Linked DNA regions of Homo sapiens: region 1 is linked to region 2. The links are contacts of gene promoters, found by promoter capture Hi-C in blood cells and fetal thymus (Javierre and others, 2016). All regions are on one chromosome and are shown on one strand. Each heading gives the region's core, a stretch centred on a gene start or on the middle of the fragment in contact. The rest is flanking DNA. Distances are from core to core; before and after follow the strand shown. Region 1 has its middle 8.4 kb from the start of CEACAM21. Region 2 holds the start of TGFB1 (transforming growth factor beta 1).

What was found. Contacts are between HindIII fragments. The CHiCAGO score rates a contact against its expected background, and 5 or more counts as called.
Region 1: a contact is called between a fragment that was not itself captured here and the fragment with the promoter of TGFB1 in region 2, in 1 of 17 cell types (naive B cells). The highest score is 5.7, in naive B cells.

The regions. Positions count from the first base shown.
Region 1 is chr19:41,564,337-41,571,285 of GRCh38, reverse strand. It overlaps a transcript of CEACAM21 not described here and the pseudogene LOC110467527. Among named protein-coding and RNA genes, the nearest start is that of CEACAM21, 8.4 kb to the left of the region's middle. RefSeq lists a silencer at 1,160-1,454. The HindIII fragment of the contact is 2,339 bases long and covers 3,014-5,352 here.
Region 2 is chr19:41,352,672-41,359,800 of GRCh38, reverse strand. TGFB1 (transforming growth factor beta 1) reads left to right here and starts at 5,879. Exons shown (of 7, transcript NM_000660.7): 1 at 5,879-7,111. The coding sequence starts at 6,757. B9D2 (B9 domain containing 2) reads left to right here. Exons shown (of 4, transcript NM_030578.4): 3 at 1,779-1,904; 4 at 4,788-5,384. The coding sequence ends at 5,101. RefSeq lists enhancers at 5,002-5,503, 5,427-5,576 and silencers at 5,577-6,106, 6,257-6,326, 6,627-6,706, 6,867-7,129. The HindIII fragment of the contact is 9,879 bases long and covers 3,948-7,129 here.

The sequences.
Region 1 (6,949 bases), core at 2,934-5,433, 210 kb before region 2:
ATATTGAAGATATAAGTTTCTACTCTTCCCACACATGCGATTCTTCTCCCAAGTGAAGGATTTTACTGGTGAATTGTTATTAGAGATTAGTGTGGATCAGTGACTCTGCCAGGGGAAATTTTGCCCTCTAGGGGACATTTGGCAAAGTCTGGAAACATTGTTGGTTGTCAGAGCTGGGGGAGGGAGTCCTGCTGGCATTGAGTGGGTGGATGGTGCTGAACACCCTGCAGTTCACAGAGCCCCACCAGTTTGACCACCCAAATGTCAATGCTGAGGAGTGGAGAGCCCTGCTGTGCCCTCCCGCAGCTTCCCTGAAGCTTCCCCTCACCTGCTCCTCCCATGTCTCCCCACCACTTCCCCACTTCACCCGCCTCCTTACACCTCAGTCCCCTCCACCTGAACTCACCCCTTAGTCCAAGGCCAGCCCTGATCTCCGCTCTCCTGGTCTCCTTGCTCCTTAGCAGGAGGCGCCCACTAGATGGCGCCCTTGCCCTTACTGGAGCTCACCGTCTCCCTTTCCACCCTGAGACAAATGTGGCTGCTTTTACTGCCACAACCCCAGCCCTCCACGCTCTAGATTTGCTCAGGGAGCAGCTCCTGGACAGACCTCAGGGACCCCAGGGAGGAGCCTCACTCTGGAGATTTTGATGGCATGGTCTTTGAACTTCACTGTTACCCCCAGTCAGGATCCAGGATGTTGGGAGTGCATGATTCTGCCCGGTCCCACTTCAGCAGGACCCCACTGCTGAGTTGTCTGTGGGGACCCGGGCCTCTCATCTCCTTCTTGCATTGCAGGAGAGGGATCTTAGCACTGCTTTCACATAAAGTCAGATAATGGAGGAGTGCAGGTGAGTTTGGGAAGGTGGACATGAAGAGAGGTTGTGTCCCTAGAGGTGGCAGCAGTGAGAGGATGGGCAGGTGGGAGGAACACAGCCCATCCAGGGTTGCCAGCCATATTAGGAGCGACAGCCTTTCCTCTAAGCCTCCAGCCTTTTTCCTGAAACATTCCAGAACTTTCCACTTCAGCACTTCCCACTGAGGCTCCTCAGGTCTGTCCCTGAGCTCCCAGCTGAGCCTACCTACCCATCTGAAATCCTGAGTCCTGTGTCACCCTCGTTCCCCATTATTCTGTGCAGTTCTGTGGGACGCCCAGCTCTCCTGACACCCCCAGTCTTCAGAATGGCCATCAGCGCTGTCGCTGTGGCACCAGGGTGACTGCCGCCTGGAGGCTGAGTCCTGGCTTCCTGACAGCTGTGGGGCCCGCTCTAGGCTCCCTTGTCCTGATCATTCATCACCTCCAGGATGCACAGCAGCTGGGCCAGGGGGAGGAGCAGGGACAGGTGTCAGCCACCCTGTGTGTCTGCAAGTCAGGCTGGGGGTGTGGGAGGACGCCAGGAATGACTGAACTTTCTGATTTAGAGGGTGAGAGCTTGCACTGATGGAATTTGGGATTTAATAGGAAAAGCATAGCGTTTTCCTATTTTGTAGGCGGGGTGGCTGGAGTTTGGAATCATAGATTCCCCTGGGATGTCACTGTGGACCTCAGTCCCACCCGTTAGGGGCACAGATTTCAGAATCCACACCCTGGGGCAAAGCAGGCATGGGAGGCTCCATCAGCCTGGCCAGGGCTCTCTATTTGTGCAGCTGCTGCAAGGAGATGTGCACTCTGATGGGAACAGTGCTCCCTCCTCCTTGGGGGGCAGTATCTAGCTCCCTGCAGCCCCTCTCCCTGCAGGCCCTGCCCTCTCTGAACCTCACCTTCCCCAACCCGCCCCCCGCAATCCCATCTCAGCTGTAATCCCAACACTTTCTCATCCATTATGGGTGGACTGCTTGAGCCCAGGGGTTCAAGACTATGCTGGCTGGACAATATAGCGAGTTGTTGTCTCTACAAAAAGACAAAAATTAGCTGTGCATGGTGGCATACACCTGTAGTCCCAGTCACTCAGGAGGCTGAGGTGGGAGGATTGCTTGAGCTGGGGAGGCTGAGTTGGCAGTGAGTTGAGATTGTGCCACTGTATACTTCAGTGTAGGTAACAGAGCGAGACCCTGTCTCAAAAAATAAAAGTAAAAAAAAAAAAAGAAATATGGAATACATTATTGTTAACTCTAATCAACCATGCTATGCAATAGTCCACCAGTAATACCAGTAATAGCCAATAATGAATTATCTGAAAAAGAATACAATTTATTCTTAGCTATCTACTGCTAAAATTTTTAAGCTATCTTTTATGATAGCTGAAACAAAAGAAGTAAATTTAACCAAGGAAGTAAAAGACCTTTATAATGAAAACTGTAAAACATTGATGAAATAAATTGAAAAAGACACACGCACAAATAGAAGATATTCCATGTTCATGAATTGGAAGAACTGATATTGCTAAAATGTCCTTACCACCCAAAGTGGTCTACAGATTCAATGCAATTTCTGTCAAAACACCAATGATATTCTTCGAAGAAGTAGAAGATCCTAAAATTAGAAACCACAAAAATTCCTAAAACCTGCACAAAACACCCTGAGTTGCCAAAGCAATCTTAAACAAATAGAACAAAGCTAGTGGCATTACACTTCCTGACAATCAAAGCATACTGCAAAGCTATAGTAACCAAATCAGCATGGTCCTGGCATAAAAACAAGCACATAGATCAATGAAACAGAATAAAAATCCCAGAAATAAACCCATGCATCTCTAGCTAACTGATTTTCAGCCAAGGAGCCACATGCACACAATGGGGAAAGGACAGCCTCTTCAATAAGTGGTGCTGGGGAATTGGATATTCATATGCAGAAGAATGAACCTAGACCCTATCCCTCACCATGCACAAAAAATTAACTCAAAATGTATTAAATAAAGACTTAAATGTAAGAACTGAAACTATGAAACTACTAGAAGAAAATATAGGGGGAAAATCCATGACATTGGTCTAGGCAAAGAGTTTTTGGATAAAATCTCAACAGCATAAGCAACAAAACCAAATATAAACAAACGGGATTTCATCAAACTAAAAAGCTTTTATACAGCAAAGAAAAAAAAGGCCAGCAGAGCAAAGAGACAACCTACAAATGGGAGGAGAATATATTTGTAAATATATACATATATATTTGTAAATATATACATCTGATAAGAAGATAATATCCAAAATATATAAGAAAATTATGTTTCTGTATAGTTTTATCTGACTGGGATACAGAGGCCACATCCACAGTCCCATCCTCAAAGGCCACTTGTTCCCAAAATGTCAAGCACATCCCTCAATGATCCATCATCAACACCTATGTCTGTAGGATGAAGGGTGAATCATGAAGCACTAAAAAGGAAGAAGGAAGCCAATCCCAAAACAAAATGATGCAGGGTCTGGAAAGTCCAAAGCATTTTTTTTTTTTTTTTTACTGCATCTTCCTCCTTTCTTCTCCACATTCCCAATCCTCACTATTGATTAACAAAACAAAAAAAACTGGGACCCACCATCTTCCCTACTGTCAGGAGATCTAGCGAGATTGTTTGAGTCTTAGACCAAACTTTGCCATAAGCCAAATTTCTGGCTGACTTTACAATGATATGAGCTAGCACAGTCTCTTTTTCTGCCAGTCAACTTGTGCTCGGTTTTATTTGCAACCAAATAGAGGTGGTAACCAAATATAGGTGACCCTAAAATTAGTCATCAGGATGAAATCCTAAAATGTGCAACAAACTGGGTTGAATTCAGGATTAGTAGCAACATCTCTGTTGTGGGCTTGAAAAGGGGGCACCCTTTTATGCAGTAGCAAAATTGCTAAATTGTTGTTTGCTGAGTCTTTGGACTCTCATCCCGGATTTTCTATGACCATTCAAACAGGGCTGCAATGAACATCTATGGTTGTTTAGCTTGGCACACTTCTACATTTCTATATAGTAATATCTAGAAGTGCATTTGCTCAATCACAAGATATGCACATTTTATAATTGACTGCTATCGAACTACCTTAAATAGCCTTAATTTGTTCTCAACATTGTTTAACAGGGTCTGTTTAATGTCCTATGTCCAGCAAGGACAGTATCACTTTTCTTAATATTTTTCAAATTATTGGACCTTAACAAATACTTAATGTGCAATTAATTGATTCCTTTGTATTCCCATGCCTTCTTTTATATGTTTCCTTATAGTACACAAAACCACATTATTGTTTCTTTACTTGTGTCATTCCACCCTGGACCATTCCTATCTAAACCATAACATTATGAGAGAGAGAGAGAGAGAAAACAATATGAAAATATAAATTGATTAATCAAAAAAATTTAAATAGGACAAATCAGGAAGACACAAGAGAGATTTTAAAATTATTCAGAGAATACCACAATAGCTGTACCAATATATTTTAAAACTTAGATGAAACGGACAACTATCTCGATAAATGTAAATTACCAAAACTGACTCATGAAAAAATGGATATTATGAATAGAGCAATAATCAGTAAAGCAATTAAAAAGACAGTTGATAATTTTTATTTACTGACAACAATAACAAAATTTCAGGTCCTGATATTTTTATGGTGAATTTTAACAAATTTTCAAGCTCCTCCTCAACCAATTCTCAGAAGGTTTAAAACTTTAACAAGAAAACACTTTCTAACACATTTTCAGAAGCTGTTATAGCATGATACCAAAACCACACAAGAAAATTATAGACCAATCTCACTTACAAATATACATGCAAAATCAAACAAAATCTTAGTGAACCAAATTCAGAATTAATAATAGCAAACAAGCAAAATATGTTATCATACGTATGGCTTATATCAGGAATGCAAGTATGTTTCAACATCAGAAAATACTTCTCCACATTAACAGACTAAAGGAGAAAAACGCTTGTTTAATTATCTCAATAGGTTTTTAGAGAATTTTGAAAATTTTATAAAGTTATGCGTATTCTGTAAAATTGATGAAATCCAACCTTGATTTATTTTTAAAAATTGCCTTTCCTATAGAATTATAGGTAAAGGAAACACATGCATCCTCACAGAGCTACTTCAAGGCTAAGTTACTTCCCATAAGTAACGTATTCTGTAATGTGTGCTTGGCACATATTCAATACTAAACAAATATTTGCAAATCCTCAAACCACTTCTCGCTCAAATAACCCACCTTTGTCTTTTGCCTTTATGTTAGGGTTGATTTTCTCAATTGTATCTTGGAGATCCTTTGGTGGGTCTTTCAGCAATTACCCTGAATTTGCTTTTCTGTTTACAATTTTAATTCCTGGGAACTCTTTCTTGTTCTCTGACTGCACCCTTTTCATGAGAGTTCAGCCATCAATCCTCCAGAACCCCACCCCCCCCGCCCCCCCAAAAAGCAATAAAGATGTCTAAAAGCTTCTTTCTGGGCTTTCGAATGATGTTTACCCCAGGCATTTGTTCTATTCGTTCATCACCCATTTTCCCTACAACTTGCCTACACTTGATATCAGATTTTTATTTATTAGTCACCTATCTTCTTCATTGGCCCATTTTCCTATTTTGCCACTGGTTGTTCTCAAATGTGTTATGATTCCTGGTTGTACAGTCAAGTGGTTGATAATCTTGGATATACGATAAAGATTTGCTCTGTAGCTGTGTGTAAGCCTATATAAAAGCTTTTGTATTTTTCTTCTTAAAAAAGACAAAAGATGGTTGGGAAGATCCCTCCAGTTCACCAGTTCGAGGCTGCAGTGAGCTATGATAGCGCCGCTGCTCTAGCCTGTCTGTGAAAAACAAGGGGGGCGGGGGGCGGGGGGGAAGACTGGAGATGTAAATCTCCCGCAGGGCCCTACCCGTATCCGCAACAGGTCTCTAACAGGAACAGCCTCAGGCCTGTGTTGGAACAAGGTAGGTTACAGAAATCTGGAAGCCAGATCTGTAACTTCAGGGTAAGGACTGGCTCTCAGGGCTGATCCCCCGGGCTGGGTGTCCCAGAGGCACCCGCCCCCGCCCCTTCCCCAAGGCAGGCCAGGACACCTTCACTCCTCTCCTTAGGCTCCCCACCCCCTTCTCCTCCCCACTGTGCCTCCTGGAGTAGCGGTGGCGGTGCCACAGGGGAGCGGGGCGGGGCGGGCTCTGAGGGCAAGGGGGATGGGCCCCGCCGGGGTCACTGGCGGCCACCCTGGAAACTCGACGCAGGCCGGCCCTTCTAGTGAATCGTCCCAGCCACAGCTGGCCTCCCAGCCGCGCTTGGGGCGCCTCGGGGCGCGAATGGTGCAGGTTGGGGAGACTCACCACGCACCGTCGGGGGTCGGTCCGGTTATTCCTCACCGCTCGGCTCCAGTGGGCGCGCGGGCCTCTCCTCCTCAGTTCCTGCGCTGCAGTCCCTCCCTCACCCTTCGCAGCTTGGGAATCCGACTGTGTCATTCCGACGGAGCGCCGTGAGGACCTCCGAGGGTGTTAGCGCCAAGTGATCTCTGTCCAGCGCTCTGAATATCCAAGTAAAGGAGTTCAATGAAGGGCGGGTCAACGGAGGAGAAACCGTGACTCTCTCAAGGGAGCCCAAGGCCTCCTTGTCTAATTAGTGACGCGCCAATGGATGGAGGCTCTTCCCACCATCTCTTCCCAGCATCCAGTGACACCACCGCCAAGGGACGGGCTCGGCGGAACCTGCAGGAAAGAAGCATCGGCTGAGCCTGACTGCAGCGCTGTGAAGAGACAGGGGAGGGGATCAGTAGTTGGTCCCGCGCCCACCCCCTGTTTCCGCGAGGGGCGGAGTTGACTGGCCATGCAGGCAGAGGGCGAAATGTGAAATTCCACTACTCCTACCGTTTTTCCCTGACCCGATGGGGCGGAGTGTCGTCAGGCTAAGTTCCCTGGCGGTAAGGTGGGGAGATTGAGGCGCACACCTGCCGAACGGTAACGCAGGATTAGCTAAGGCGAGCTCAGGACAGAAGCCTCCCGAGGAGCAGGAGGGCAAAATAATAAATAAATAAATAAATAAATAAATAAATA
Region 2 (7,129 bases), core at 4,630-7,129:
GGTGGATTAAATGAATGGATGCTTAAAGTACTTAGCATAGCATCTGGGATTTAGTTAGTACTCGGTGCATTTTCTTTTTTTCTTTTCTTTTTTTTTTTAGATGGAATTTCGCTCTTGTTGCCCAGGCTGGAGTGCAATGGGACCATCTTGGCTCACTGCAACCTCCGCCTCCTGGGTTCAAGTGATTCTCCTGCCTCAGCCTCCTGAGTAGCTGGGACTATGGGCGTGCGCCACCACACCCAGCTAATTTTTGTATTTTTTTAGTAGAGATAGGGTTTCAGAATGTTGGCCAGGATGGTCTCGATCTCTTGACCTTGTGATCTGCCTGCCTTAGTCTCCCAAAGTGCTGGGATTACAGACGTGGCTAATTTTGTGGGTGTGTGTGTGTGTGTTTTTAGTAGAGACAGAGTTTTACCATTTTGGCCAGGCTGGTCTCGAACCCCTGACCTCAAGTGATCCACCTGCCTTGGCTTCCCAAAGTGCTAGGATTACAGATGTGAGCCACTGCGCCCATCCTAATTTTTGTATTTTTAGTAGAGATGGGATTTCGCCATGTTGGCCGGGCTGGTCTCAAACTCCTGACCTCAGGTGATCAGCCCGCCTCAGCCTCCCAAAGTGCTGAGATTACAGGCGTGAGTCACTGCGCCTGGCTTGTTTGTTCATTTTTTGAGATGGAGTCTCACTGTGTCACACCAGCTGGAGTGCAGTGGTGCAATCTCGGCTCACTGCAGCTTTTCCAGCGATTCTCGTGCCTCAGCCTCCCGAGTACCTGGGATTACAGGCACCTGCCACCACTCCAGACTAATTTTTGTATTTTTAGTAGAGACGAGGTTTTGCCATGTTGGCCAGGCTGGTCTTGAACTCCTGACCTTAGATGATCCACCCCCCCCTAAGCCTCCTAAAGTGCTGGGATTAGAGGTGTGAGCCACTGCGCTCAGCCTTAATTTTTATATTATTTGTAGAGATGGGGTTTTGCCATGTTGGTCAGGCTGGTCTTGAACTCCTGGACTCAAGGGATCTACCTGCCTTGGCCTCCCAAAGTGCTGAGATTACAGGTGTGAGCCACTGTATCCTACCACTCAGTGCATTTTAGCTATCATTATCACCCCTCAGTAGGATCGAAATTGTTATGTGTGTTTCAGGATGCGCTCCTGGAGGGTACCCTTGGCCCCATCTTAATCCTTGGACTAGGCTTGAAAATATGGGGTGAGAATCGTAATAAAATGATATTGAAGACTTATCCCGTGCTCACTATGCTCATTACCCATTCATGGATTAATGGGTTAATGGATTAGTGGGTTATCATGGGAGAGGAAGTGGTGGCTTTATAAAATGAGAGAGAGAGACGTGAGTGGCATGTTAGCACACTAGCCTTGGGACTCTCTGAAGAGTTCCAGCAAGAAGGCTCTTACTAGATGGGGCTCCTCCACCTTGGTCAGTCTCCTATAACTGTGAGATAGAAATTCCTTTTCTTTATAAATTATCCAGTTTTGGATATTATGTTAAGAGTAACAGAAAACAAATGAAGACAATGAGGAATGCATTATTACTCAGCTCATTTTATAGATGGGGAGACCAAGGCAGAGAAAGCTAACTTGCCCAAGGTTGCAGAGGCAGGAAGAGGTAGTGCCAGGATTTGAACCCAGATACTTGGTTCCAGAGTCCATGCTTCGTAACCCCTACCAGTAGATGCCACAGAGAAACAGTCCTATAGCCACAGCGGCATCCCCTTCCCGATGGCTGCCTCCCACCCCTCTATGTCCCGGCTCTCACTGCAGGGGCGGCATGGAAGCTCCTGTCAGGCGTGCGGGAGGGCCAAACGCAAGTGGACACCCCGCAGATAGGGGACATGGCTTACTGGTCCCACCCCATCGACCTGCACTTCGCCACCAAAGGTCTTCAAGGTGGGTATCACACCTGGACCCGGGTCCAGGCTGAGGGGAGGGGGCCAGTAGCCTCTGAGGTCCCTGGGGCTGGGAACACCAAGACCTGTCCCTGCTCCCCATACCACGTAGGTCCCTTTTGCAGCCAAGTCTGGCCCTGGAGAGGCTGAGCTAAGGCCTTCCCAGGCCTGCTCAATAGGCGATCCCAAGTTTGTATGATTAGGGCAGAGGCCAGGGTGGAGCAGGAGGTGGGAAGGTGGGGGGTCAGGGTGGGAGGGGAGGTGGCATTCAAGTAAAGAGACAAAACGAGAGTCTCCAATAAAGAGGAAGCCGGGAGGCAGGGTCTGAGAGAGGCAAGGGCTGTTTCTCCAGGAAGGGCTCCTCGGCTTGAAAGTAGAGCTGCTGCTCAAAGGGGAAATCAGTACTGGGGGAGGAGCGGCATCAGAAAGCCTTTCTAGTAGAAAATGTGGGTTCCTGGAGATGAGTTGATTCTGAGAAATTGCCTAGGTAAATGTGCCATATATTTCACCAATATAAAGAACGTCTACCTGGTACCTGCCCTGTGTCCAGCCTGTGTTGGGTGATGCCAGGGAGACATTGAGGATCAAGGCAGTGTCCCTTAGCCTTGTCCTCACAGGGTTCACCGTCCTATGGGGGGACACACCTCTCTCCAGACAGTGGCACCTCAGAGTGGGCAGGACTAAGATAGGTGATTTGGAGAGGCTGTGGGAGCCCAGAGGAAGTGGCTGACTCTGTCAGGGAGGTCAGAGAGGGCTTCCTGGAGGAGGGGGCTTCTGAACTTTGCTGTGAAGGGCCAGCGGAGCTAATAAGGCAGAGGGATAGAAGAAGGTTCTAGGCAGAGGGAGCTACGTGGAAGACTCAAAGGGGAAAGTGAGCCAAGGGCATCTAGTGGATTGAGGGAGAGCGGGACGGCAGAGGGGAAAGGCAGAAGGGGACAGGCCATGCAGGGCCTTGAGTGCCAGGCTGAGGAGCTGAGGCCATCTCCTGAAGGCACTTGGGAGCCAGAGCAGGTAATGGACAAGTGAGATTTCACCTTTTTTTTTTTGGAGACAGAGTTTCACTCTGTTGCCCAGGCTGGAGTGTAGTGGCAAGATCTCAGCTCACTGCAACCTCTGCCTCCCAGGTTCAAGCAATTCTCCTGCCTCAGCCTCACGAGTAGCTGGGACTACAGCCACGTGCCACCACATCTGGCTAATTTTTGCCTTTTTTTTTTTTAATAGAGATGGCGTTTCACCAAGGTGGTCAGGCTGGTCTCGAACTCCTGACCTCAGGTGATCCACCTGCCTCGGCCTCCCAAAGTGCTGGGATTACAGGCATGAGCCACCGCGCCTGGCTGAGATTTCACTTTTAAATAATCTTTCTGTCTTTTAAGCTGGAGCTGGGGAAAAAAAAAATCTTTCCGGTGCTGTGTGGGTGAGGTGGGCAGCTCTAACCTTTCAGCTCTTGGGGCCTCCAGTCCCCCAGTGGTGGCACCAGCCTTGCTTTCTCTTTTCTCAAGCCCCCATTTTGTCCATCAGGAAATCTTAAACTGCCTCTACTTTTGAAATACATCCTAAATCCCACTTCTTACCCTTTTCTCGCCCAGCACCTTGATCTGTCCAAGTTCTTCTCTCACATGGACTATGACAAGAATCTTGTCTCTGGAGTCCCCTTCCCCAACCCCCCTGGTCTGCACCCCACATGCAGCTGGGACCCTGTGAACACCTAAGTCAGGTCCCATCTCTGCTCTGCTCAGAACCCTCCAATGGTCCCCATCTCACTCAGGGTGAAAGCCATAGTCTTAGCATGCATCACAAGGCTCTCCACAACCAGGCTGGCACCTCCTTCCCGTCTCCCCACCTCATTCTGCTCTAGCCATGCTGTCCCCACCAGGCACACTCCGTCTGGGCTCCAGCCATACTGTCCCCACCAGACAGTCCCCCCCCAGGGCCTTGGCACTTGCTGTTCCCTCTGGCTAGGAGCACTCTTCCTCTAGATGGCCACATGGCCTACTCCCTTCCTTCCTTTTAGCATTTGCTCAAATGTCACCTTCTTAATGAAGCTTCCTTGATCCCCTTCTTGCTAAAGCGGTATCCCCACCCTCACCCTACCCAGCTCTGTTTTCCCTCACAGCAATTACCACCATCTGATCTACCCTATAATTTGCTTATTTACTACATTCGTTGTCTAGGATATCAGCTTCACGGGGGCAGGAATTTTTGTCTGCCATCCATGTTCATGTCTGCCGTGTCCCCAGCTAGCTAGAACAGAGTCTAGCACAGGAGAAGGGATCAGCATGAGATGAGATGGGGCTGGATCTCCAAGGGCTTTGACTACCAGACTGAGGAGCTGAACTGTGTTCTGAGGACATGGGCAAAGCTATGGAAGGAGAGAAAGATGCTTCCAGATGCCAGGTGGAAGGTGGATTAGAGAGGGGCAAGAAAGAAGGCCCTGGGCCCAAAGAGAGCAGGGCAGGGACATGAGGGAAGGCAGGAGGTGTCCCTGACAAGGCCCATGATGGTTACCTGGGGACTGGAGGAGCAATGGGCTGCCCTGACATGGGGTCATGGAGGAGGATAACACAGAGAGGAAATTCAGCAGAGGTCTGATTAGAAGGGCCTTGAATGTTGAAGAGGTTGGACTTTATACTGAGGGCACTGGGGAGCTATGGAAGGATCCTTAGCAGGGGAGTAACATGGATTTGGAAAGATCACTTTGGCTGCTGTGTGGGGATAGATAAGACGGTGGGAGCCTAGAAAGGAGGCTGGGTTGGAAACTCTGGGACAGAAACCCAGAGAGGAAAAGACTGGGCCTGGGGTCTCCAGTGAGTATCAGGGAGTGGGGAATCAGCAGGAGTCTGGTCCCCACCCATCCCTCCTTTCCCCTCTCTCTCCTTTCCTGCAGGCTGGCCCCGGCTCCATTTCCAGGTGTGGTCCCAGGACAGCTTTGGCCGCTGCCAGCTTGCAGGCTATGGATTTTGCCATGTGCCCAGTAGCCCGGGCACCCACCAGCTGGCCTGCCCCACGTGGCGGCCCCTGGGCAGTTGGCGAGAACAGTTGGCACGGGCTTTCGTGGGTGGTGGGCCGCAGCTGCTGCATGGGGACACCATCTACAGTGGGGCCGACCGCTATCGCCTGCACACAGCTGCTGGTGGCACCGTGCACCTGGAGATCGGCCTGCTGCTCCGCAACTTCGACCGCTACGGCGTGGAGTGCTGAGGGACTCTGCCTCCAACGTCACCACCATCCACACCCCGGACACCCAGTGATGGGGGAGGATGGCACAGTGGTCAAGAGCACAGACTCTAGAGACTGTCAGAGCTGACCCCAGCTAAGGCATGGCACCGCTTCTGTCCTTTCTAGGACCTCGGGGTCCCTCTGGGCCCAGTTTCCCTATCTGTAAATTGGGGACAGTAAATGTATGGGGTCGCAGGGTGTTGAGTGACAGGAGGCTGCTTAGCCACATGGGAGGTGCTCAGTAAAGGAGAGCAATTCTTACAGGTGTCTGCCTCCTGACCCTTCCATCCTTCAGGTGTCCTGTTGCCCCCTCCTCCCACTGACACCCTCCGGAGGCCCCCATGTTGACAGACCCTCTTCTCCTACCTTGTTTCCCAGCCTGACTCTCCTTCCGTTCTGGGTCCCCCTCCTCTGGTCGGCTCCCCTGTGTCTCATCCCCCGGATTAAGCCTTCTCCGCCTGGTCCTCTTTCTCTGGTGACCCACACCGCCCGCAAAGCCACAGCGCATCTGGATCACCCGCTTTGGTGGCGCTTGGCCGCCAGGAGGCAGCACCCTGTTTGCGGGGCGGAGCCGGGGTGCCCGCCCCCTTTCCCCCAGGGCTGAAGGGACCCCCCTCGGAGCCCGCCCACGCGAGATGAGGACGGTGGCCCAGCCCCCCCATGCCCTCCCCCTGGGGGCCGCCCCCGCTCCCGCCCCGTGCGCTTCCTGGGTGGGGCCGGGGGCGGCTTCAAAACCCCCTGCCGACCCAGCCGGTCCCCGCCGCCGCCGCCCTTCGCGCCCTGGGCCATCTCCCTCCCACCTCCCTCCGCGGAGCAGCCAGACAGCGAGGGCCCCGGCCGGGGGCAGGGGGGACGCCCCGTCCGGGGCACCCCCCCGGCTCTGAGCCGCCCGCGGGGCCGGCCTCGGCCCGGAGCGGAGGAAGGAGTCGCCGAGGAGCAGCCTGAGGCCCCAGAGTCTGAGACGAGCCGCCGCCGCCCCCGCCACTGCGGGGAGGAGGGGGAGGAGGAGCGGGAGGAGGGACGAGCTGGTCGGGAGAAGAGGAAAAAAACTTTTGAGACTTTTCCGTTGCCGCTGGGAGCCGGAGGCGCGGGGACCTCTTGGCGCGACGCTGCCCCGCGAGGAGGCAGGACTTGGGGACCCCAGACCGCCTCCCTTTGCCGCCGGGGACGCTTGCTCCCTCCCTGCCCCCTACACGGCGTCCCTCAGGCGCCCCCATTCCGGACCAGCCCTCGGGAGTCGCCGACCCGGCCTCCCGCAAAGACTTTTCCCCAGACCTCGGGCGCACCCCCTGCACGCCGCCTTCATCCCCGGCCTGTCTCCTGAGCCCCCGCGCATCCTAGACCCTTTCTCCTCCAGGAGACGGATCTCTCTCCGACCTGCCACAGATCCCCTATTCAAGACCACCCACCTTCTGGTACCAGATCGCGCCCATCTAGGTTATTTCCGTGGGATACTGAGACACCCCCGGTCCAAGCCTCCCCTCCACCACTGCGCCCTTCTCCCTGAGGACCTCAGCTTTCCCTCGAGGCCCTCCTACCTTTTGCCGGGAGACCCCCAGCCCCTGCAGGGGCGGGGCCTCCCCACCACACCAGCCCTGTTCGCGCTCTCGGCAGTGCCGGGGGGCGCCGCCTCCCCCATGCCGCCCTCCGGGCTGCGGCTGCTGCCGCTGCTGCTACCGCTGCTGTGGCTACTGGTGCTGACGCCTGGCCGGCCGGCCGCGGGACTATCCACCTGCAAGACTATCGACATGGAGCTGGTGAAGCGGAAGCGCATCGAGGCCATCCGCGGCCAGATCCTGTCCAAGCTGCGGCTCGCCAGCCCCCCGAGCCAGGGGGAGGTGCCGCCCGGCCCGCTGCCCGAGGCCGTGCTCGCCCTGTACAACAGCACCCGCGACCGGGTGGCCGGGGAGAGTGCAGAACCGGAGCCCGAGCCTGAGGCCGACTACTACGCCAAGGAGGTCACCCGCGTGCTAATGGTGGAAACCCACAACGGTGAGCTCGGAGGGGCAG